Linked DNA regions of Homo sapiens: regions 1, 2, 4, 5, 6 and 7 are each linked to region 3. Evidence: promoter capture Hi-C in 16 types of primary human blood cells and fetal thymus (Javierre and others, 2016). All regions are on one chromosome and are shown on one strand. Each heading gives the region's core, a stretch centred on a gene start or on the middle of the fragment in contact. The rest is flanking DNA. Distances are from core to core; before and after follow the strand shown. Region 1 overlaps DZIP1L (DAZ interacting zinc finger protein 1 like). Region 2 overlaps LOC124906289 (a long non-coding RNA gene). Region 3 holds the start of FAIM (Fas apoptotic inhibitory molecule). Region 4 has its middle 27 kb from the start of PRR23A. Region 5 overlaps ARMC8 (armadillo repeat containing 8). Region 6 has its middle 53 kb from the start of PIK3CB. Region 7 has its middle 15 kb from the start of FOXL2NB.

Region 1 (3,660 bases), core at 626-3,125, 500 kb after region 3:
TGAACTATTTTTATTAACAACGGCAGGGATAGTTGCCCAGGTCAACATTGATCCCGAGTGCCAGTCATGATGCCTGGCACTTAGTAGGGCCTCAGGAATCATTTGTTGATGGGATGGAGATATGAATGTTGCAGAGACACCCTAACAGACAAAGTGTATGCTGTGCGCTCTGGAAGCCCAGGGGAGGGGCAGGGAACTTTGACTGTGAGCGTAGCAGGGATTTATGGTGATAATCATTTATTTATTTATTTATTTTATTGTGGGAAGTTTTTTTTTATTATTATACTTTAAGTTCTAGGGTACCTGTGCACAACGTGCAGGTTTGTTACATTATGTATACATGTGCCATGTGGGTTTACTGTACCCATTAACTCGTCATTTACATTAGGTATTTCTCCTAATGCTATCCCTCCCCCAGCCCTCCATCCCCCAACAGGCCCTGGTGTGTGATGTTCCCCTTCCTGTGTCCAAGTGTTCTCATTGTTCAATTCCCACCTATGAGTGAGAACAGGCCGTGTTTGATTTTCTGTCCTTGTGATAGTTTGCTCAGAATGATGGTTTCCAGCAAGGACTTCATGACTAAAACACCAAAAGCAATGGTAACAAAAGCCGAAATAGACAAATGGGATCTATTTATTTTATTTTTAATTTTACTTTAAGTTCTGGGATACATGTGCAGAACGTGCATGTTTGTTACATAGGTATACATGCATGGTGTTTTGCTGCACCTATGAACCCGTCATCTAGGTTTTAAGCCCTGAGAGCTGGGATATCAGGAAGCCCGGTGTGTGATATTCCCCTCCCTGTGTCTGTGTGTTCTCATTGTTCAACTCCCACTTATGAGTGAGAACATGCTGTGTTTGGTTTTCTGTTCCTGTGTTAATTTGCTGAGAATGATGATTTCCAGCTTCATCCATGTCTCTGCAAAGTACATGAACTCATTATTTTTTATGGCTGCAGAGTATTCCATGGTGTATATGTGCCACATTTTCTTCATCCAGTCTATCATTAATGGGCATTTGGGTTAGTTCCAAGTCTTGGCTATTGTTAATAGTGCTGCAATAAATATATGTGTGCATGTATCTTTATAGTAGAATGATTTATAATCCTTTGGGTACCTACACAGTAATGGGATTGCTGGGTCAATTTGTATTTCTGGTTCTAGATCCTTGAGGAATCGCCACACTGTCTTCCATAATGGTTGAACTAATTTACACTCCCATATGGTGGTAATCATTTATAAGCAGGGCCTTGAAACATGTGTCAACCTTTAATTGGAACAAAAGGAGGTGGCAAAGGACCATCTATACCAAGAGGCAGCATAGAATAGAGGCTAGCCCAGACTGGAGCCAGGCTGCCTGGGTGTGAATCTTGCCTCTGGATCTTGGGCAAGCTTCTTTATTTCTCTGTGGCTTAGATGATAATAGTACCTCCTCAAGGGCTTGTCCTGAGAAATAGATGAGTGCTTCTTTGTAAAGCATTTAAAAACAGTGTCTATACATAAAATAAACAGCCCAGAAGTGTGAAAGTGTGGAAGGCAAGTAATATGGTAAATGGGAGATGCAGCTAGAGAGGTACTTTTGGAAGCAGTTCATCAAAGTCTTTGAATATCACTCAGTGTATTTGGAATTAGCCAATAAGGAACACAAAATCCATTCCCCTGTGGCTGGAGCTCAATAGTGGTTTCCCACCTTAAACAGGGCCTGCACTCTCAGGTTTGCCACAATCCCTAATGTTTCCTAGCCCAGCACTCCACAGATTTAGTGGTTCTAAATCAGTAAGTCTGGGGATCTGCATTTCTAACAAATTCCCAGGTGATGCTGATGCTGCTGGTCCAGAGACCACACTTTGAGAACCACTGCCTTATTGTACCTTGGACAATAAGATGGAGAATGAGTTGCCATTTATCATCACACATGTACTGTGGTTTCTTTCATATCTGCTACATTTTGTGCATTTAATGTTACTTTTCTGGCCCTGGTGGAACTTGGGTTTGCAATTCCTGGCATTATCAGTATGGAATGGTTGGGTATAAGATCACAAGAGACCGAGGGGCTAGAGAGAAAGAGATTTGGGGGTGACTGAGGCTCAGCCTAGAGCAAGCCTATAGTAGCTGAAGCTGTGAGCTCATTCCTAGGGATAGCGTGCAGGGAGAAATGGGTTGCAGGTGGATAGCAGAATATCAAGGGGGCAGTGGCACACCCTGTCATAAAAGAAAGGGGAAAGAATAGCCACTGTTTAAGGAAGAGCATTCAAAAAGGTAGGAGGAGAGATGAGAGAGAGAGTGGCTGATGGAGAGTTCTTGACTTTATTATTAGAGAGAGGACTGTTGGCAAACATCTGACGCCAAAGCTTAAATAGTTAAACAGTGCAGTTCTCAGGTGAGCTCACCTGAGAGCTGGGACATCAGGAAGCAGGTGTCTTATTACCCTTGCCCACAGCATGCCTGGTAACCTGCTGTTGCTCCGAGGCACAGCTTGTTGTGAGTAGTCGTCTCTGAGGCTCTGGTGGCACAGTTGCAGCTTTGGAGCTAAGCATGGTGAGTATCATGTCACCCATCTCTACTCAAAATACAAAAAATTAGCCAGGCATGGTGGCGGGCACCTGTAGTCCCAGCTACTTGGGAGGCTGAGGCAGGAGAATGACGTGAACCTGGGAGGCAGAGCTTGCAGTGAGCCGAGATCGCGCCACTGCACTGTTTCATAACATGGCAGAAATGTGCTAGTCTTCTCATGGCCATGGTGGGGGTGCTTATGTCAGGCTGGTTTTCTTTTTGGAGTACTTGTTGGGAAAGAGTATCTGAGAAAGGGAAGGATGGATCTGAAACTGAAAAGGTGGGCCAGTGGCATCCTGTAGGCAGTCTCAAGACCAGGCTGAGAGGTTTGCGTTTGGTACAGTGGGAATAGGGAGCCATGCTGAGCTCCAGGGTGGGGAGCAGCTGTGTGGTTAATATGGCTCCATAGCCCAGGACCTGAGCTTGGGCTGGGCCCACATAGGCATACTATAAATGAGGAGTGAGTAAATGGATGAATTGGAGGTTTAAGGGATAAAGGATGATAATCTGATCAAAGCAATATTTTAGGAGGAATAGCCCCAAGAATCAATGTTGAGTGGTTCAGAGTCCATAAGCTTTGGTGCCAGATGAACCTACAATTACACTTCAAATCTGGTCTCCTGTTTTCATCCATTTTGTACTGTTGCAACAGAATGACACAGACTGGGTAATTTATAAAGAAAAGAAATGTATTTCTCACAGTTCTGGAAGCTTAAGTCCAATATCAAGTCCAATATCAAGCTTGAAGTCCAATATTGGGCAAGGGCCTTCCTGCTGCATCATCTCCTGGTGGAGAGTGGAAGGTCAAGAAAGCATAAGAGCAAGAGGGAAGGGGACTGAATTCCTCCTTTCATCAGGAACCTACTCCTGTGATAACTAACCCACTCCTACAATAATGACATTCATCCATTCATGAGGGCAGAGTCTTCGTGACTTAATCACCTCTTAAATGTCCCATCTCTCAACACTGCTGCATTGGGGATTGAGTTTTCAACATATGACCTTTGGGGGATGCCACTGAACCACTCCAGAAACCAGTTTCCTTATTTGTAAAATGAGAATAATAATACCTGTTTGTAGGTTTGTATTAGGAGTTTGTATCTAGC
Region 2 (3,457 bases), core at 514-3,013, 300 kb before region 3:
CATCCTGGCTAACACGGTGAAACCCCGTCTCTACTAGAAAATACAAAAAATTAGCCGGGCGTGGTGGCAGGCACCTGTAGTCCCAGCTACTCGGGAGGCTGAGGCAGGAGAATGGCGTGAACCAGGGAGGCAGAGCTTGCAGTGAGCCGAGATCGTGCCACTGCACTCTAGCCTGGGCGACAGAGTGAGACTCTGTCTCAAAAAAAAAAAAAAAATTAAAAATTAATGTATATAGATACTCCCCTATTGTTATAGATTTAACTGTGTTCTACAAAAAGATATGTTATAGCCTAAACCCTGGTACCTGTGACCTTATTTGGATAGGGTCTTTGCAGGTAGAATCAAGTTAAAATGAGATATTTAGTGTGAGCCCTAACCCAGTACGACTGATGTCATTATAAGAAGAGGAGAGCCACAGACAAAGACAAAGAGAACAGAAGGAGAGCGTCATGTGCCCACAGAGGCAGAGAGTGGAGTGATGATGTGTCTGTAAGGCCAAGGGTTGCCAGCGGCACCAGAAATTAAGTTGTCCCCGAAGTTCATGTGTTGGAAACTTAATCCCTAGTATACCAGTGTTGAAAGATGAGATCTTTAAGAGATTGCTAGGTCATGAGGGCTCTGCCCTCATCAATAAATTAATACCATATTGTGGGAGTTGGTTAGGTATCTTGGAAGCGGGTTCCAGATAAAATAATAAATTTGACCCCCATTCCCTTCTCTCTCTCAAGCATATTCTCTTGTCTTTCTGCCTTCCACAATGGAATGAGCAGCAAGAAGGCCTTCAGCAGATGCAGTGCCCTTGAACGTGGCCTTCCCAGCCTCCAGAACTGTAACAAATAAGTCTATGTTCTTCGTAGATTACCCAGTCTCAGGTATTCTGTTATAGCAACATAAAGTGAACTAAGACAGAAGACATGGATCAAATTCTCCCCTAGAACCTTCAGAGAGGGCATAGCCCTGCTGACATTTTGATTTCAGACTTCTAGCCTCTAGAACAAGGGTTCCAACCCCTGGGCTGAGGACCAATACCAGTCCATGCCTTGTTAGGAACCGAGCTGCAAAGCAGGAGGTAAGTAGCAGGTGAATGAGCATTGCCTGAGCTCTGCATCCTGTCGGATCAGTGACAGCATTTGATTCTTTTGGGACCGTGAACCCTATTGTGAACCGCACATGCAAGGGATCTAGGTTGCACACACCTCATGAGAATCTAACTAATGCCTGATGATCTGAGGTGGAACAGTTTCATCCCAAAACCATCCCCCAGTCCCCACATCTGTGGGAAAACTGTCTTCCATGAAACTGGTCCCTGGTACCAGAAAGGTTGAGGACTGCTGCTCTAGAACCATGAGAGAACACATTTCTGTTCTTTTAAGCCACCAGTTTGTGTACTTTGTCACCATTGCCTTAGGAAGCTGACATACTCCTCAAGGAGGTGGAACATAACTCCCACACTTAAGGAGTGGGCATAGTGACTTCCTTCCAAAAAGAACACTGTGGAAAGGGCGAAAAAAAAGTAACTTTACAGTAGCGAAACCTGATGAAGCCAGGTGACCAAACTCAACATCAACAGTGATGACTCATGTTGATTGTATGTACCTTGATATGATGTGATGAATATGTGGTCTTCCTCCCAAAAACCTATAACCACCAGCCAGGCACGGTGGATCACGCCCTGTAATCCCAGCACTTTGGGAGGCCAAGGCAGGTGGATCATCTGAGGTCAGGAGTTCGAGACCAGCCCGGCCAACGTGGTGAAACCCTGTCTCTACTAAAAATGCAAAAATTAGCTGGGTGTGGTGGCGGGAGCCTGTAATCCCAGCTACTCAGGAGGCTGAGGTAGGAGGTTGCAGTGAGCCAAGATCCCGCCACTGCACTCCAGCCTGGGTAACAGAGCGAGACTCTGTCTCAAAAAAAAAAAAAAATAGCCAAGTGTGGTGGGGGACACCTGTAATCCCAGCTACTTGGGAGGCTGAGGCAGGAGAATCACTTGAACCCAGGAGGCAGAGGTTGCAGTGAGCCAAGATTGCACCACTGCCCTCCAGCCTGGGCAACAGAGTGAAATGTGAAACTCCATCTCCAAAAAAAAAAACATCCATAACCCCAGTCTAAATGTGAGAAAAACATTGAAAACATTGGACAGATTCCAATGGAAGAGCATTCTACAAAATACGAGACCAATATTCATCAAAACTGTCAAGGTTATCAAAACCAAGGAGAATCCGAGAAACCACCCCAAGCCAACAGGAGCCTAAGGAGACATGATAACTAGATGCAGTGTGATACACTGAATGGTATCCGGGATTACAAAAAGGACATTAGGTGAAGATTAAGGAAATCGGCTGGGCGCAGTGGCTCACGCCTGTAATCCCAGCACTTTGGGAGGCCAAGGCGGGCGGATCACGAGGTCAGGAGTTCAAGACCAGCCTGACCAACATGGTGAAACCCGTTTCTACTAAAAACACAAAAATTAGCCGCGCATAGTGGCATGGATCTGTAATCTTGGCTACTCAGGAGGCTGAGGCAGGAGAATCACTTGAAACTGGGAAGTGGAGGTTGCAGTGAGCCAACATCGCACCACTGCACTCCAGCCTGGGTGACAGAGCAAGACTCCAGCTCAAAAAAAAAAAAAAATACTTAAGAAAATCTGGGCCAGGTGCAGTGGCTCACACCTATAATCCCAGAACTTTGGAAGGCCAAGGCAGGAGGATTACTTGAGCCCAGGAGTTTGAATTTACAATGAGCCATGATCATGTCACTGCACTCCAACCTGGCTGACAGAGGAAGGTCCTGTCCCTAAATTTAAAAATAAATAAATAAATCTGAATAAACTGTGGACTTCATTTATAATCATTGGTCAATATTGGTTAATTAATTGGAACAAATGGACCATACTAACATAAGATTAATAATAGGAATAATAGGAGAAACAGAGTGGAGTAAAGGGGTAACTATATGTTCAATTTTTTCTTTTTTTTTTTTTTTTTTTTTGAGATGGAGTTTCACTCTGTTCACCCAGGCTGGAGTTCAGTGGTTTGATCTCGGCTCACTGCAACCTCTGCCTTCTGGATTCAAGTGATTCTTCTGCTTCAGCCTCCTAAGTAGCTGGGACTACAGGTGCACGCCACCACACCCAGCTAATTTTTGTATTTTAAGTAGAGATGGGGTTTCACCATGTTGGCCAGGCTGGTCTTGAACTCCTGAACTCAAGTGATCCACCCGCCTGAGCCTCCCAAAGTACTGGGATTACAGGTGTGAGCCACAACGCCTGGCCTATATCTTCAATTTTTATATAAGTCTAAACAGTTCCATAAAATAAAATCTGCTTCAAATTTTTTTTTTTTTTGAGACAGAGTCTTGCTCTGTGGGTCAGGTTGGAGTGCAGTGGCACAGTCTTGGCCACTGCAACCTCCGTCTCCCCGGCTCAAGCAATTCACCTGCCTCATCCTCCGAAGTAGCT
Region 3 (3,613 bases), core at 554-3,053:
AAGAAATTAATCCACTGTTGTTTTTAAACTCTTATGCATGTACTTAATTTTCAAGATTCTATGACCAAACTGGAAAATGATAAATACAAAAAACCCTCTATTTTTGCAAATATTTTATTAAAATGTAAATTTAAAAAGATGAAAAACCATATTCCACTTACTTTCACTGATGGAGATGATACCAAGCACTTGAAACTTTTTACATGTCTTTAAAGAAAGCTTTTTGCGTATCTCATACGTACCCATCAATCTTTTAAAATCCCTTCCCTAGCAACCCAACACCTAAGTTTCAGAGCATGACTTAAACACCAACACGTTGCCACTGTTCATCTAATCCACCTGAATTTTGCCTTAACTTAGGTTTATTCTTACTGGGGACTGAAATGGTTCGTTCAAGATAAACCGAAGTCAGTTTAAAAATTACTAGATGATAGTAGTTACTAAGATGCTCATGGTTCCCTTTTCAGCAAAGGCCCCCAGGTAGGGCCAGCCAATAATGCAAGTCACACTCAAGTGTTGACATCTTCATCTCCGGGCCGGCCCCTTATGAAGTGAGGGGGGTCTCCAGTAAAATCACTCAGGAAGCTCCTCGAGCCAAGTATTCCCAAATGCTACTTACTGGAGGTACAAAAAGGAGAATAACTTTTCTGAGGGCCATTTCACAATCTATACCAGAAGCCTTGTGGTATAGACCGTGGATTCTATCTTGTTTTAGAACGAATCTTGTGCGATTCTTTCTACAGAAATGATCACGCTCAAAAACCCAGATACAACGATGCTCAATGAATTACTTTTTGCAATAACTAAAAACTGAAAACCACTTGTACGCTCACCATCAGGGAGAAACTACATTTAGTAAATCACAGTCCAAAGCCATGCCAAGAGTCAGGGATGGATGAGGTAGTCAACCTGACACACAGGAATGTACAGTCGAGAGAGAGAGAGAGAGAGAGAGAGAGTCGAGAGAGAGAGAGAGAGAGTCGAGAGAGAGAGAGTCGAGAGAGAGAGAGAGAGAGAGAGAGAGAGAGAGAGAGAGAGAGTTTCAGCACTTTATGATGCAGGTTCTGCAAAAACAAGCCCCGCTCATGTTACAAGGAAAAACCATCTGGAAGAATATACACCCTCATGTTAACGCAGCTTGTCTCTGGGGAGCAGCGGCACGGCTGCTTTGCTTGCTTCCTTGCTTTCTGTTCCACGTTTTCGACAGTGAGAAGTATTATCTTTAGAGGTCGCGAACAGGCCGGAGGAGGGTGCGGCAGGTCGCGGGGCAGGGCCTCGCTAGGCAGGGACGCCCCCGCACCGCCCCGGGCTGGCCCCGCGCCCCGCGCCCCGCCGCACCTCCACCTTTGCCGGCGGTGAGCGGGAGCCGCGTCCCGCCCCGAGGTCTGGGATCACCGGCGGGCCGGCTGGAAGCGTCCGGAACTCACCCAGCGTCTCACCCGCGCGGGTCTCACCGACCGCGCAAACACCGCCCGCCGCCGCCGCCCAGAGATGGCCGCCGCCGGCGCAGCAGGGCCGAGAGCGTGGGGACGCCGGGGGGCTGAGTGCAGGGGTTTCCAGGGTGCGGAGCGGGCGGGCCCGAGGCGTCCGGGCGGGCGCAGGCGCGACACCGACCCCACCCGGTCTGCTGCCTCACCTGTGCTCTGTGGGCCGCGGGAGGCTCTGGGGTAGGTTTCACCAAACAACCGGTTGGTTCCGACTCGGCTGCGTAGGCCGCGTGGCCTTGCTCCCCTGGCCGAGAAACAGGCGCAGCCGGCGCGGAGGTTGAAAGCTCTGCAGGCGCGAGTACCAAACGCGCCGACTGTTTGTCGCGCCTCTCAGGTCCCCTGGGGCGACCAGCGCAGGAGGCCACCCCTCCCGCCGCCACGGACCCAACCCTGGTCCTCTGCCTTAGCCGAAGGCCGCACCCTCCGCGCATAGGCCTTCCTCAGCCCCAACCCAGGACATCACCATGTCCCGCAGTGCGTCCAGTCTTCCTGCCAGCAAGTGTGGGTAGGAGCCGGCCGCTGGCCCCGCTCTGGGCTAGACGGTGGGGACATACTGGCGGGCAAAAACAGCCCTGTGCCTGCTCTGCAGCTATGGGGAAGGAATATCTGTTCATGGCAGCAATAGCATTCGCTCCTTAAAACCTCTTTATGAGTCTCATTCCTTTTTTAAAGACCCAAACTACTTAAGGTGGGCATGAAGCCCCCATGTGTGATCTAGCCTCTGCCTGCTTGGCTTCATTTAGGTCCTTAAAGGATGCAGGTTTCTTCTCGCCCAGGGCCTCTGCAAATGCTCTTCTCTCTGCCTGGACACTCCTCACCTCTTCCCTATTGTGAGAGTTCTTCATATATCATTTCTTAGATTACACTATCCTGGCCCATAAGACTTGCAGCATTGCTGGGTGTGGTGGCTCATACCTGTAATCACGGCATTTTGGGAGGCAGAGTGGCGGATCTCTTGAGTCCAGGAGTTCAAGACCAGCCTGGGCAACATGGTAAAAAAAAAAAAAAAGAGAGAGAGAGAATGAGAAAGAAGAAAAGAAAATAATTAGCGGCTCAGGCCTGTAATCCTAGCTACTTGGGACGCTGAGGTGGGAGAATTGCTTGGGCCCTGAAGGGAGGTAGAGGCTGCAGAGAGCTGTGATTGCACCACTACACTCCAGCCTGGGCAACAGAGCGAGACCCTGTTTCATTAAAAAAAACACACACAAAAAGAAACAGCCGGGCTCAGTGGCTCACGCCTGTAATCCCAGCACTTTGGGATGCTGAGGCAGGCATGGCAAAACCCCGTCACTACTGAAAATATAAAACTTAGAGGGGCGTGGTGGTGCATGCCTGTAGTCCCAACTACTTGGGAGGCTGAGGCAGGAGAATCGCTTCAACCTGGGAGGTGGAGGTTGGAGTGAGCTGAGATTGAGCCACTGCACTCCAGCCTGGGCGAAGAGCAAGACTCTGTCTCAAAAAAAAAAAAAAAAAAAAACAGCCGGGCACAGTGGCTTACACCTGTAATCCCAGCACTCTGGGAGGCCAGGTGCGGATTGCCTGAGGTCAGAAGTTTGAGACCAGCCTGGCCAACGTGGTGAAACCCTAGCTCTACTAAAAATACAAAAATTAGCCGGGCGTGGTGGCATGCGTCTGTAATCCCAGCTACTCAGGAGGCTGAGGCAGGAGAATCACTTGACCTTGGGAGGTGGCAGTTGCAGCGAACTGAGATCGCCTCACTGTACTGCAGCCTGAGCCACAGAGTGATACTTCGTCTCAAAAACAAAAACAAAAAAAACACAAAAATTGCAGCACCAGGGATTCTTCTTCCTAGCCCCTTTCAGGGTGTGCAATAATTTGTGTAATTTTTGCTTAATGTGTAACTTAACAGTAGACTGAGATCCATGAAGGCAGAGACCATGGCCGCTTGGCTCTCATTCTTGTATGTCTCACATCTGTACCGTGCAGGCCCATGTTAGCTCTGGTAAATATTTATTAAATGAATGAATGAATGAAGAGCAGGCCTGGGTAGTGTCTTAGGTGGCCTTGATTTTCAATTTAAGGAGGAGACAGTGTTGCCTACAGAGAGCGAGAAAAGTTGTTGAGTGGGCCATGTGAGGAGCAGTGAATGGTCCCTGTGGAGAGTA
Region 4 (3,621 bases), core at 80-2,579, 370 kb before region 3:
AAAACAGATTATTCACTCAACAACTATTTACTGAGGGGCCAAGTAAGATGTTGAGGATACAAAAAAAAGCTAGTCCCTGCCCTTACACAGTGTATAAGCTAGTGGGGGAGGCAGACATAATCAAATAATCATGTAAGCAAAAATAAACTACCAAAAAGTAAAAAATTAAAAGAATTAATTACCAAAGATGATGGTAGCTTGGCTAATGAGGCGGCAATGAAGATGAAGACAAGAGGCCAAGATGAACAGGTCCTTAAAAGGTACTAAAAGCTAAGAAGACAGGTAGAGGAAGAGGTGTTGGAGTCAAGTATGATTCCTGGTCCCCAGGCCTGGGAATCTGCAGAAGGACCAGGTTGGGGGTAAAGGCAGTACATGAGTTTAGTCTTGGCCATGTGAAGCCCTAGATGTCTTGGCATGATCCAAGTGGAAATGTCAAGTGAGTCACTGCATATATGGGTTTGAGGGTCCAAGGACCAGCCATGACTGGAAACAAAAATTTGAGAGTCAGGTGGTGATGAAAGCCCTGGGTGTGAACAAAGTTCAAAAGTTCATTGAGTGAGAAGATGGGTTGGGAAGAGAATCAGGTGCAGAACTGGGTCTTGGAAAACTCCACCACTGAGCGTGGGGTCTCCCCAGTAACAAAGATCCCAGTCATTTTGGCACCACTTCAATGTGATGACTCCCAGTTCTGCCACTGACCCTGTGTGCACTCCGAATCCGGTACTTAATCTGTCTGAGCTTCCATGTCGCACACCCCACACATTCTTTGTCAGTCTTTAATCTCTCCCCTTTTACTAACCCATGCACAATTCCTGCCTCGAAACTCCTCCTTCACTCCCAGCCCCCACCCCAGCCCGTCGGTGAAAGGGAATGAGAGCTCCAGAACCAGCTGTTTCCTTTCTGAGAGGTCCTCAGGCCTGAATGCTCTTTGGAATCACCAGGGAATTTAACAAGATACTAATGTTCTGGCCCCACCAGGAGATGCTGATGTCATTGGTCTGGGTGGCCTGGGTGGCCTGGGTGGCCTGGGTGGCCTGGGTGGTGTGAGTTTTTCAAAGCTCCCCAGGTGGCGCTAGTGTGCAGCCAGAGTTTAGAATCTGGGCTTAGAACCAGAAAAGCTGGGATCACCCAAACTGGCCAAATCATTCCCTGGCTTTGTACACAACACTGTGACAGGAAGGATTTCTCCAGCACTGCAACTGGCAGCTGTAGCAGGCTCCCCCCAGCACAAGATGTGGATCTCCAGATCGAGGCCATCTTTGGCTCAGAAGGAGGGCACTCTTCACCTCAGATTTGGGGACATGTGACCCTTAGGGGCTGAGAGCCTAGACTTTGACATCAGACAGCTGAGTCCTAGGTCCTCTTACAGGCCTGGAGATTTGGACAATTGCCAAGGCTTTCTGAGCTTCAGTTTTCACCCTGTAAGAAAAGGAACACAGGGCCAGGCGCCGTGGCTCATGCCTTTAATCCCAGCACTTTGGGAGGCCAAGGCGGGCGGATCACAAGGTCAGGAGATCGAGACCATCCTGGTTAACACGGTGAAACCCCATCTCTGCTAAAAATACAAAAAATTAGCCGGGCATGGTGGCACGCACCTGTAGTCCCAGCTACTCAGGAGGCTGAGGTAGGAGAATCTCTTGAACCCAGGAGGCGGAGGTTTCAATGAGCCGAAACTGCACCACTGCACTATAGCCTGGGCAACAAAGCAAGACTCCATCTCAAAAAAAAAAAAAGAAAAAAGAAAAGGAACACAGTAGCCAGCAGTGTGGGAGTGTTGCAAGAGGGACTTGCTATAATCTCCATACACAGTACCAGCTCATAGACACTCTCAATAAATTGTTATGGGTGTGATTTTTATCAACAGCAAAGTTCCTCCTTCCTCCCATGAGTACCCTCTCTTCTCCCTCCTCTCCTCTATTCTCTAGTCACCCCTTTGACTCCCCAAAATGTTGAACAGGCTAGTGTCATAGGGCATATCCAACAATAAAAATATAATAATTATTACTTTTTTTAACTTTTATTTTAGGTTCAAGGGTACATATGCAGGTCTGTTATATAGGTAAACTTATGTCACGGGGGTTTGTTGTACATATTATTTCATCACCCACGTACTAAGTGTCATACCCAACAGCTATTTTTTTCTTCTCCCTCCTTCTACCCTCCACCCTCAAGTGGGCCCCAATGTCTGTTGTTCCCCTCTTTGTGTCCATGAGTTCTCATCATTTTTCTCCCACTTATAAGTGAGAGCATGCAGTATTTGGTTTTCTGTTCCTGCATTAGTTTGCTAAAGATGATGGTCTCCAGCTTCATTCATGTTCCTGCAAAGGACATGATCTCATTCTTTCTTAAGGCTGTGTAGTATTCCATGGTGTATATGTATCACATTTTCTTTATCCAGTCAGCCACTGATGGGCATTTAGGTTGATTCTATGTCTTTGCTATTGTGAATGGTGCTGCAATGAACATATGCGTGTATGTGCCTTTATGGTAGAACAATTTATGTTCTTTTGGATATATACCCAGCAATGGGATTGCTGAGTCAAATGAGCTACCACTTATTAAGTATTGACTCTGTGTCAGTCTTTACTGATGATTTAGACTTTAGCACAGATGCTCACACCAATGGCATGAGGCAGTAATGACCCCGTCTTCATGAGGTTCTGGAAGTTTAAGCATGAAGTTGTGACACAGTAGGCAGTAGCAACTTAGGCCTGTCTGACTCTAAAGACAGAGCTATTCCTACCCCTTGTAGTAATTCTGGTTCACAACTTGCTTATTGGTCCATTTGTCATACTTAGATTATTTTAAAATTATAGAATCTTAGTTTAAACTCTGGAATGGGTAGTATTAAACTGTGCTCCACAGGGCCCTAGGGATCCACAAGGATAAGGATAAGGAGTTTGCTGTCCCCTCAAGAAACCACTGGAAAAGAGCATCAGGTTGGCATATTCCTACATGCTTTGGGAAACATGTGAAGCCAGGCTTTGATGCCTGCAACCTCCACTCCAACCAGAGCAACTCTACTTCCATCTATTGGGAAAACCACCAATTTTACAGATGAGGAAATTTTCAGTTAGCTCGAGGCAGGGCCCTTTCCTCCTCCCAGAATGCAGAAGACGCATGACTTTCCCACTCCAGAGCTTGCTCCATGGTACCAACCCGCCATTTTTGCAACCACAGGGGCCCTTCCTCTGCCTGATGGGCTGCCATTAGGACACAAAGAGGGGCACCCCCCCAAAAGGGCCAGAGGCTTCACTGCCCTGTTTGTACTCGATTCCCAGGTCATTCCTATCAACCCCACTGGCTGTGGTGTCAGAAAGTGCAGACTTGTACTAAGCGCTGGGTCACCCTGAGCCCCCTGTTTATTTTCCTTCCTGGATACATTGGTGACTCGGTGTTTGAAAAGCTCCAACAAGGCTGAAACAAGAGTTCACAGGAGAATGGACATTCACCTCGAGGAGGCCTGCTGGTGATTTGGAATGTCCCTTTGGAAGGCTTTTTAATAAACTTTGTTTGTATCTGCCTTGATGAGGAACACATTTGCCGGGGACTTTGCAGGGATGTTTGGTTTCGAGGCTTCCCTTTCTTGGCCTTAGAAGTTCTTGGTGGCAGTGGCTGCCT
Region 5 (3,289 bases), core at 365-2,864, 400 kb after region 3:
ATATTTTTCTTCTAAGAATGCCCAATTTCAAAAGTAAGAATGTCCATGGTATACATTTTACTATGTCTTAAAACTAGCAGGAGAGTTTGGAAAATCAACGTAATTACAAAGCACATCACTTTGTTCATTCAGAAGAATCATCAGGAAGATATTAAGTATATTTTTGTAAATACTTTATTACATTAGTCTGAAAAAAAGCTCATGACAAAGATAAACAGTAAGACAGAAAAGAAAGAAGACTCCTAGTTCTCACTAAACACATAGCTAGACAGTGGGACCTTTGTGGCGAGCCCTAGAAGTTTTGCCAACAGAAGACCTAGGCAAATATGTTAGCATATACACTTAGCAGCAAGCTAAGTTTCTTCACTAACTGCTGGGTGTCATGTACGTATAATTAATAGATAGGAATATTACTTCTATAAATTAGTATACACAAAAGGACAAAATCTGGCTCTCAGCCAGGGAAGAGTGAGGACTCCATGAAACAGTCTGTAAGGGGTAGTCTAGGTACAAGAGGAAATCCTTAGACTAATGTAGAGAAGCTTCATTGCTGGAGGCAGAAGTAAAAATAAATAAAGGAGTTGTCACACTTTCTGTGAAGGAAAACAATTAAGAATTAGAGTGATCTGTAGGCCACCCAAGCTGTCTCAACTGAACTGGATAAGGGTGGGTAGAATTAGAAAGAGTACAAAGGGAAGACACTTACCTCCTTTTCATTTGTATTGTGAAGTTTTTCTATTGTGTTATTTCTTGTAATACTTATTTTGGAGGGTAACTCTTTTTTAATATTTAATTTTTGATGCTTCATATTATTTAAAATAAAGAATCCATATTTAAGAACCAGAGAAAAAGTTTTGTCCCCTGCTTGTTTTTTCTGATGCCTGCTGAAATATCTTTATATACTCCCCCGCCGTTAGCAATAAGTTCTTATAGGGAGGAAGAAATAACTTTTCCAATTTACTCAGAACTCCAAATCAGTAAAAGTTAATTACCAAGACACAGTACCAGCTTAAAACTTTTGAGCCACCAAAAATAACTCTGGAGAACTACACAAACTCTAGTTTTCTGATAATATAGTTAACTAAGTCAACATATATTTTCTTCCCCCCTCCCCTGAGACGAAGTCTCGCTCTGTTGCCCAGGCTAGAGTCCAGCAGCATGATCTTGGCTCACTTGCAACCTCCGCCTCTCGGGTTCAAGCAATTCTCCTGCCTCAGCCTCCTGAGTAGCTGGGATTACAGGCGCGCACCACCACATCCAGCTAATTTTTGTATTTTTAGTAGAGATGGGGTTTCACCATGTTGGCCAGGCTGGTCTTGAACCCCTGACCTCGTGATCCGCCCGCCTTGGCCTCCCAAAGTGCTGGGATTACAGGCATGAGCCACTGTGCCCAGCCAACACATATTTTCGTATTCTGAATTTGCTACCAAAATATCCTCAAAGGCAACTCAAATACCTCCTTTAAAACAACAACAACAACAAAAAAAAAAAAACAGAGATGCCGTCTTGCCCAGGCCGATCTCAAACTCCTGGGCTCAAGGAATACTCTCATCTCAGCCTCCCAAGTAACTTGACTACAGGTATGTGCCACTACATCCAGCTCAAATGCTTGCTTTTAGCATGTACTTCATTTTTAAAGAACAAACAGTGGAAGCAAAGAGGCAAAAGTGGTGAAAATTCTTGTGCCCACCAGGGTACCATTAAAGCACCTGCTAACACATGTTTTCCTCAAAATAACAGAATCACAGAGTTAGAAGGACTCTCAACAATAATCTGCTCAATCCCTCGGTTTACAAATGGGGCTTCTCATGATCTTTACCCATTTGTCAGATCTTCAAATGTACAGTTAGGACACAAATAACTGTACGAACATATCAAGAAACAATATATGACAACCAAAAGCTACAGAAGAACTGAAAAAAAGCACTACTATAATACAAACAGGTAAGTTTTGCCACTCCATTTGAGTACATGTTTTCCTGGTTTTCTGACATAGTAAGTTCTAAGTACCTCAGACCCTCCTATCCAGAGATTGATTTTGATGTTACTGTTCTATCTTTACTGTCTATAGCTCCACATCTCTTACCTCTCAATGATGTGTATCTTAACATAAGTTTCCCCCATTAATAGCAATTCTTTTGCTGCTCTGTGCCTGGTTCATTCAATATAACATGCACTGAGGAAAGCATTAAAAATAAATTTATCTTTAATAAAGAAGATAAGCAAGGCACAGTCCCTGTTCTCAAGAATTCATATTCTCTTGTTACTATGTTTACATGATTATTTCCCTATTAGAATATAAGAATTATAGTATACACAACATAAAGGCGGCACTGAGGAGGACATTTGTAAACCAGGGGAATCAGGGAAGGCTTCTTTCAGGAATTGGCTTTGGAAAATGAGTAAGAGTGTACCAGGATGGACAAGGAAAGAAAGAATCAATGTCACAATCATTGCCACAGGGCATGCAAAGCCAATACAAGTAAACAATCAGCAAGTATACTAGTTGCTGGCACTGAAAAGAACAGAGGATAGAGAGGCACCGCAGGATGTAAAACACAAAAGGCTAACCAATAGGTGGACCACAATTGGAGATTTCACACTGCCTTTTGGTCAAAGTTACATGCTAGATGCCAAAGAAGGTATAAGAGGACATTAAGGCAGAGCCTTGCATTTAAGAAGCTTAGTATCTGAAATTGTTATGTATACGCAAAAATAATCATATAAGTTGCTCAGACAGCAAGCAAGCTGAAGGGGTATGATCACTTATTCAACCTTATCTTACTCTACGCTTTTGTCTAATGTATTCATTTATCTGTATAGGACAATTCTGATATTTCACTGCTCCTTGTAGATCAGGTCACCTCTCCCCTCCCAGTCCTCTTCTCTCTTCTTTCAGAAGGCAGCCTAGAAATATAAGAGGTAGGGAGAGAAGGCAATTTGTACAGATATTAAATGGGTTGATAAGAGAAAGAACGTCTAAAAAGGTGACATTTGAGCGAAGTCCTAAAGAAGGTGAAGGAGCAGACTGTGCACCTACCTAGGGGTAGAGCTTTTTTTAGGCAAAAAGAACAGCAAATTCAAATGCCCTAAAATGAGAAGTATCTGCCATAATCAAAGAATAGGAGGCCATTATAGCTGGAGCAGAATGAGCAAAGGAGAAAGCAGCAGGAGATGAGGCAGAGAACAGGCGCCAGATGGTAAAGAGCTGCACTGTCCAGTAAGCCAGCCTCTAGCCTCATATGGCAATTGAAATTTGAAATGTGGCTAGGAAGTGAATTTTGTTTAT
Region 6 (3,468 bases), core at 197-2,696, 280 kb before region 3:
CTAAGTCATCTTGGGCAGGGTGAATGCTGTGGGCCAAGCTGGAGATGCAGGGCAGTGGGAGTGCAGACTGAAAAAATGCAGACCCCTGGGGCACTACTCATTTCTCAGGCTCTGATCTGCTGTAGTACTAGGGGTTTACTCAGGTCTGTGTCTGCCTCCTTTCTGAATAGGCCAAATAATTTATCCAAACAGCTTTCCTACGGCAGCTCTCCGCTCCACGTGGCCAGATAGGAGTTCCAGACCAGTGTTGTCTCCTGGGACATTGACACAGCAGCCAAGTTTATTGATGCTGGGGCAATCACAATTGGTTGGTTGGTTTGAGATAGGGTCTCACTTTGTCATCCAGACTGGAGTGCAGTGGCACAATCACAGTTCACTACAGCCTCAACCTCCCGGGCTCAAGCGATCCTCCCACCTCAGCCACCTGAGTAGCTGGGACTACAGATGCATGCCACCATGCCCAGCTAATTGTTTGATATTTTGTAGAGACCGGGTGTTGCAATGTACCCAAGCTGGTCGTGAACTCCTGAGCTCGAGCAATCTGCCTGCCTGGGCCTCCCAAAGTGCTAGGAATACAGGTGTGAGCCACCACACCCAACCCACGATTGTAACTGGCTCAGGGGCTGGCATAGCAATGGTGTCTGGCAACTTGATCATTCACTATGCCATCAGCCCATCTCTCAAGGAACAGCTCTTCTATGCCATTCTGGACTTTGCCCTATCTGAGGCCATGGGACTCTTCTGTTTGACAGTCACCTTCCTCATCCTCTTTGCCATGTGAAGCTCCATGGGGGTCACCTACTCACCCTTGCTGCTACAACTCCATAACATTCCTGGTGCTGGCATGTGCTGAGTTTTACCATTAAACACGTTTCTCTTTTTTTTTTTAAAAAAAAAAAAAAAGGCGGGGCAAGGGGGCGACTTTCTTGGTGGAACAAATACTGCACTGGGAATCCAGAACTTAGAACCCTAGTTTTCAGTTCTGGTGCTTTGGCTAAGAGGCTGTGTTATGTTAAGCAAACTTCCTCCAGTAATTTCCTTTTACAGAAGATACAACTAAGTTAACCTGTTTTAGACCCAAGGCTGGGACAACAGCTGTCAGAGTTTTCTGAATGCCCGTTCTGGTTCAGCTATACCTTGCTTTCTTTAGTCATCTTTATAGAGCAGTGAAAAATTCACCTTTATGATAAATGATTGTATTACCATGTGAAACTTTCCACCACAGCAAGCCAGGCAAAAATATGACTGTATATGATCCCTGCTGAAGGGAAGTATGTAGAAATAAAATGACTCTTGTACTGCAGTAGTGAGACTGTTGAGTGGGAATGTGGGCAGGACATGAGGGTTTCTTTTTTTAAAGTTTCTACAACATAGATTGTGCATGGTGTCTCACGCCTGTAATGCTAGCACTGTAGGAGGCCAAGGCAGGAGGATCCCTTGAGCCCAGGAGTTCAAGACCAGCCTACACAACATAGGGAGACCCTGTCTCTTAGAAAAAAAATAATACAGTGGCTCATGCCTGTAATCCCAACACTTTAGGAGGCCAAGGCAGGTGGATCATGAGGTCAAGAGATCGACACCGGCCGGGTGTGGTCACTCACGCTGGTAATCCCAGCACTTTGGGAGGCTGAAGCAGGCGGATCACGAAGTCAGGAGTTCGAGACCAGCCTGGCCAGCATGGTGAAACTCCATCTCTACTAAAAATACAAAAAATTAGCCGGGCATGGTGGTGTACACCTGTAATCCCAGCTATTCGGGAGGCTGAGTCAGGAGAATCATTTGAACCCAGGAGACGGAGGTTGCAGTGAGCTGAGATCACGCCATTGCACTCCAGCCTGAGCGATAGGTGAGACTCTGTCTCAAAAAAAAAAAAAAGAGATTGAGACCATCCTGGCCAACATGGTACACCCTGTCTTTACTAAAAATACAAAAATTAGCTGGGCGTGGTGGCACGTGCCTGGAGTTCCAGCTACTCAGGAGGGTGAGGCAGGAGAACCGCTTGAACCCGGGAGGCAGAGGTTGCAGCGAGCCTAGATCGCACCACTGCACTCCACCCTGGGGACAGAGCAAGACTCCATCTCAAAAAAAAAAAAAAAAAAAAAATATATATATATATATAGTAATAATAATAATAACAAAATTAAATTAAAATTTAAAAGTCACTATAACTTTGTTGTTATGTTTTCTACTTGTTGGTAATATTTAAGCACCTAGGCTGGGTAACATAGCGAAACCCCATCTCTACAAAAAAAAAACAAAAAAACAAAAATTAGCCAGGCATGGTGGCAGCACCTGCAGTACCAGCTGCTCAGGAGGCTGAGGTGGGAGGATTGCATGAGCCCAGGAGGTTGAGGCTGCAGTGACTGTGATCGTGCCATTGGACTTCAGCCTGGGCAACACAGCAAGACAATGTCTCAAAAAAAAAAAAAAGATAACACAAATTTAAAGTGATATAAAAGATATAATAGGCTGGGCATAGTGGCTCACACCTGTAATCCCAGCCCTTTGGGAGGCCAAAGCAGGCATATCACCTGAGGTCAGGAATTCGAGACCAGCCTGGCCAACATGGTGAAACCCCATCTCTACTAAAAACACAAAAATTAGGGCCAGGCATGGTGGCTCACGCCTGTAGTCCCAGCACTTTGGGAGGCTGAGGCAAGTGGATCACCCGAGGTCAGGAGATTGAGACTACCCTGGCCAACATGGTGAAACCCCCGTCTCTACTAAAAATACAAAAATTAGCCAGGCATGATGGCGCGTGCCTGTAATCCCAGCTACTCGGGAGGCTGAGGCAGGAGAATCACTTGAACCTGGAAGGCGGAGGTTGCAGTAGCTGAGATCTCGCCATTGCACTCCAGACTGGGTGTCACAGCAAGACTCTGTCTAACAACAACAACAACAAAAAGTAGGCATGTGTGGTGGCAGGCCCCTGTAATCCCAGCTATTTGGGAAGCTGAGGCAGGAGAATCACTTGAATCCGGAAGGCAGAGGTTGCAGTGAGCCGAGACTGCGCCATTGCACTCCAGCCTGGGCAACAAGAGCAAAACTTTGTCTCAAAAAATTAAATAAATAAATAAATAAATAAATAAATAAAATAAAGTGATATAATAGATTCTTAAAAACTATTCAAGTTTGCTTAAGACAGCAAAATGTGAAAAACTCATCTCTCCTCACCACCCAATCATTATTGCCCATTGTAGGCCAGGAACCCCAGGAAATAGACTCTGGAACAAACTTGTGTGCGGATGGTTCATTGGCAAATGCTCTTAGAAACGTGTAAGGCAGTGAGAAAAGCAAGATCTGGCACAGAGAGAAGTTAGGTTGTGATGCAGTTGCAACAGAGGCTTCAGCAGTCCTTCAGGGAGCTCTGAAGCTAGGATGGCCATTCAGAATTGTCCCAAACTGAGGCAAAGGGGAGATGCATTTATATCCCATAATATTCAGTCATTGGATGCAATCTGTCCTTAG
Region 7 (3,360 bases), core at 749-3,248, 350 kb before region 3:
ATTGATTGGTGATTCTTGATTGTGTATGCCTCTTCTGAGACAATTCTGCACATGTTTTGGGCATGCAACTCAGAAGCCCTTCAGCTTATGGCTGTCACTTTCCATTTACTTATTTATTTCAGGAACATTTCACCATTTCCGTTCTAACAAGAATATTCCTTCATAATTTAAGTGCAACTTTGTGCTTATTATTTTATCTTTTTAATTTTTGCCATCTTTTGTTGGTAAGGGAGGGAATTCCAGTTTGCATTCAGCCTACTATTTCAAAATCCCATTCAACAAATTTTATTGAACTGGAAAAAACTACTCCCACCCCTCTGGTCATGCTTCAAGAAGAACAATCCTCATTGCCTGCCAAATTTGAGTAGTTAGATTCTTATACGGTGGCTCCAGGCTCCAAGTATAAATGTTCTAGCAACCAAAACAAAGTCTGGAATTAATACAGTGTCACTCCTGTTGTACCACATTGGTCAAGGTAGTTATAAGCCCACCCAGATTCAAGGGAAGTGGGCATTGGCCCCGCCTCTCAATGGGAGGAGTGTCACAGAATTTGGAGGTCATAGTTTAAACTATCACCAGCATTTGGAGTGCAGCTAAAATTGGGTGCAACTAAACATAAGAGGTAAATAACAACTGTGAGATGTGTAATTTATTGAGCATATACTATGTTCCAAGCACTTTACTTCCATATTTTGTTTATCCTTACGAAAAACCTGTGAGATAGGTAGGCATAATACTCCTCATCTTACAGAGGAGGAATCTGCGTTCATACCGTTGGCATGAATACCCAAAGTGCTTCAGTTAATGAGTGGCCAAGTTCAGATCCAAGGCAGTCACACTGCAAGACCATGCTTTTACCCACTCTGCTTTACTAATTTTTAAAGTCACTGAGCAGTGATAACTTACTCTAGCCCTCGCTCACTGAAGCTGCCTGTGAGGAATTCAAGCTTGGGGCCAGCCGTCAGGAGAGGGAGGTGGCATCCCAGAGCAGGGCTTCCTGTGTAAACAGGAGGCGCATGGGAAGCGGCACTGTGGTGCTGGGACAATGGGCAGTGAGCAGGCAGGGCCTCCTGTCTCCGGTGGGTGCTCAGGGCTGCAGGCGGCTGGGCAGGAACAGCTGGGGCCCTGACTCCCTGACGCCTGGCCCAGGAGAGGAACTGCCCCTCTCATGGCTTTCCCAGGAGGAAGTTCCCCACTGATTCCCGGGAAGCCCTTCCCATCACAGGCCTTGGCTGTGCCTGGGCCTCCTCTTTCTTCTTAAGGAGCATGTTGTCTTTGGGGCTAATCTGGGATACAGGCCTCTTCTGAAGTCCCCATGGCCTGGAGGCTTGGAGGGTGTGGGCAAGCAGGCCAGGCCCAGATGCCAATGCAGGAGGCAGCCACTGCTGAATGTGCACTAAAGAAAAAATGCATAAGGCATTTAAAAAAAACAAACAAAACTTGAGGCATGTAAAGCAAGAATACTTGACTCCACATCCCAGCTCCATCTCTAACTAGCTATGTGGTCTTGGGGAAGACACTTAACCTCTCTGAGCCACAATTTCCTCATTTGTAAAGTGAGAAAATAATATCTATCTGAAAAGAGTTGTTTGAAGGTTGAATGAGATAATGTTTGTAAAGTAACTGACAACTAGTAAGAATAATTATAACTAAGAGCATTTAAAGCACATAAGTAGACTCCCATCTTTGACAAGCAACTAGTCTACAGTGTATCACCTAAATTTTCACCATCACAGAGACGGAGTCTCTCTGTACCAATCACCACATAGGGGGGCAAAGCACCCAACTCCTGGGAAGCCAGAGAAGGTGGGTCTTGGAGAGGGTTCTGAGTGGACCCTAACCACTATCTTCCCAAGGCTTCCGTGGCACTACACACTTGGCCACCTCTGCTTCTTCAGCTACTCCTGCTCCATCATTTTAGTTTCCCCCAACTCTACGTATCTCTTTTCTTTAATGTTCTCCTCCTCTCTGTCTCTCCACACCCTCCTTGAGTGACTTCATCTTGTCTCATCTGTAGACTAAGAACTCCCAAACCTCCCTCCTGAGTCCAGACCCGCATGTCCAACTGCCTCCAAGACATTTCCCCCTGGATGTCCCTCAGGCACTCAAATGCAATGTGTTCCACACAGAGATCATCATGTTCCCAAGAAACCTGTGCCTCGAGCCTTCCTCGTCTCAGGGTAGCCACAACCTATGCCTAGTAGACCAAGTCAGAAAACTGGGAGGTGCTCAATCCTCCCTCACCCTCACACCTAATCAGCCGTCAAGACTCATAGATCCCATCTCCTAAATGTCTCTCCAGGTGGACCCTTGTCTCCATCTGCCTGCCCCTTCCTTACTGCAGGCCCATCTTCTCTCACCTGGACTCTGCTTCAGGTTTAGCACCCTCCCTCCATCCTCCACACTGCAGCCACCTTCATCTTCTTAACATATAAAACCTCTCTTTCACTCCCATTTTACACCCCTCATGTTCTCAAGGTAAAGTCCAAGCCCCTCAAGGAGGCACCCTAGGCCCTCAGTGATATAGACCTTGTCAGCCTGTCCGAGCTCATGACCCGCTGCCTGACACACCTCTCCTACACTGGGTACTGCCAACCCCAGCCACAGGTGCTCTCCCTGTGAGGGAAGGAACCTCAGGTCTGGGCCTTCACACACATGCTTCCTCTTACTGGAATGCCTTCCCCACACCTTCTTTGGCTCCTACGCATCCCTCAGGACGCAGCCCCAGTATCACCTCCTCCAGGAAGACTTCCCATGTTTCCACAGCCTCAACCTTCCCCCATCACAGTATTTATCAAAGTAAACTGCTTTTGTCTGTTTACTTATCCAACTCCCCACTAAACTGTACCTCCCCAAGGGCAAGAACAAGACCTTCCCCTTCTCCAAATCCTCACGCCCAGCACGGGGCGTATAAAGAGGAGGTGCCCTGGATACACACGTTCACTCAAATGCATGAATGACAACTTCTACCAACCAGGGGGTGGCGCTAAAGGCAGTCCTTGGGAGATAGTCAATCTCAAGTAAACCCACTTACGTTGTAGAAGCTTCCTCCTCCCAGAAGGCAGATATAGTTTAAAGTTTGCAAGCATCCTGCTACAAAGCCCTCAGAGCTAAAAAAAAAAAAAAAAAAAAAAAAAAAAAAAAAAAATCTAGTGGGATCCTAACAGAAATCCCCTCCCAGGCATGTTGGGGGGCCAAAGTGGGTGGATCCCTTGAGCCTAGGAGTTCGCGACCAGCCTGAGCAACATGGCAAAACCCAGTCTCTACAAAAAAAATACAAAAAATTAGCCAGGTGTAATGGTGCATGCCTGTAGTCTCAACTATCCCGGAAGCTGAGGCTGGGGTCAGAGGATCACCTGA

Evidence for each region. The method cuts DNA at HindIII sites, captures the fragments that hold promoters and counts their contacts. A CHiCAGO score of 5 or more calls a contact.
Region 1: a contact is called between a fragment that was not itself captured here and the fragment with the promoter of FAIM in region 3, in 1 of 17 cell types (M0 macrophages). The highest score is 5.8, in M0 macrophages.
Region 2: a fragment that was not itself captured here is called in contact with the fragment with the promoter of FAIM in region 3 in 17 of 17 cell types (total B cells, naive CD8 T cells, total CD4 T cells and 14 more); the score reaches 24.1 in total B cells.
Region 4: a contact is called between a fragment that was not itself captured here and the fragment with the promoter of FAIM in region 3, in 4 of 17 cell types (megakaryocytes, neutrophils, erythroblasts and 1 more). The highest score is 8.4, in megakaryocytes.
Region 5: a fragment that was not itself captured here is called in contact with the fragment with the promoter of FAIM in region 3 in 4 of 17 cell types (activated CD4 T cells, total CD8 T cells, naive CD4 T cells and 1 more); the score reaches 8.7 in activated CD4 T cells.
Region 6: a contact is called between a fragment that was not itself captured here and the fragment with the promoter of FAIM in region 3, in 16 of 17 cell types (M1 macrophages, total B cells, total CD8 T cells and 13 more). The highest score is 12.2, in M1 macrophages.
Region 7: a contact is called between a fragment that was not itself captured here and the fragment with the promoter of FAIM in region 3, in 11 of 17 cell types (naive CD8 T cells, activated CD4 T cells, total B cells and 8 more). The highest score is 9.5, in naive CD8 T cells.

The regions. Positions count from the first base shown.
Region 1 is chr3:138,107,071-138,110,730 of GRCh38, reverse strand. All of the region lies in intron 1 of DZIP1L (DAZ interacting zinc finger protein 1 like), which reads left to right. Among named protein-coding and RNA genes, the nearest start is that of DZIP1L, 6.7 kb to the left of the region's middle. The HindIII fragment of the contact is 959 bases long and covers 1,396-2,354 here.
Region 2 is chr3:138,903,699-138,907,155 of GRCh38, reverse strand. The region is part of intron 1 of LOC124906289 (a long non-coding RNA gene); the gene reads left to right. Among named protein-coding and RNA genes, the nearest start is that of LINC01391, 39 kb to the left of the region's middle. The HindIII fragment of the contact is 8,530 bases long and covers 1-3,457 here.
Region 3 is chr3:138,606,961-138,610,573 of GRCh38, reverse strand. FAIM (Fas apoptotic inhibitory molecule) reads right to left here and starts at 1,803. Exons shown (of 6, transcript NM_001033031.2): 1 at 1,637-1,803. RefSeq lists an enhancer at 1,066-1,155 and a silencer at 1,256-1,715. The HindIII fragment of the contact is 4,797 bases long and covers 222-3,613 here.
Region 4 is chr3:138,977,378-138,980,998 of GRCh38, reverse strand. No RefSeq gene overlaps it. Among named protein-coding and RNA genes, the nearest start is that of PRR23A, 27 kb to the left of the region's middle. The HindIII fragment of the contact is 4,943 bases long and covers 1-3,621 here.
Region 5 is chr3:138,206,293-138,209,581 of GRCh38, reverse strand. The region is part of intron 1 of ARMC8 (armadillo repeat containing 8); the gene reads right to left. Among named protein-coding and RNA genes, the nearest start is that of ARMC8, 21 kb to the right of the region's middle. The HindIII fragment of the contact is 2,140 bases long and covers 545-2,684 here.
Region 6 is chr3:138,886,565-138,890,032 of GRCh38, reverse strand. It overlaps the pseudogene ATP5MC1P3. Among named protein-coding and RNA genes, the nearest start is that of PIK3CB, 53 kb to the right of the region's middle. The HindIII fragment of the contact is 5,394 bases long and covers 1-3,468 here.
Region 7 is chr3:138,961,030-138,964,389 of GRCh38, reverse strand. No RefSeq gene overlaps it. Among named protein-coding and RNA genes, the nearest start is that of FOXL2NB, 15 kb to the right of the region's middle. The HindIII fragment of the contact is 2,097 bases long and covers 950-3,046 here.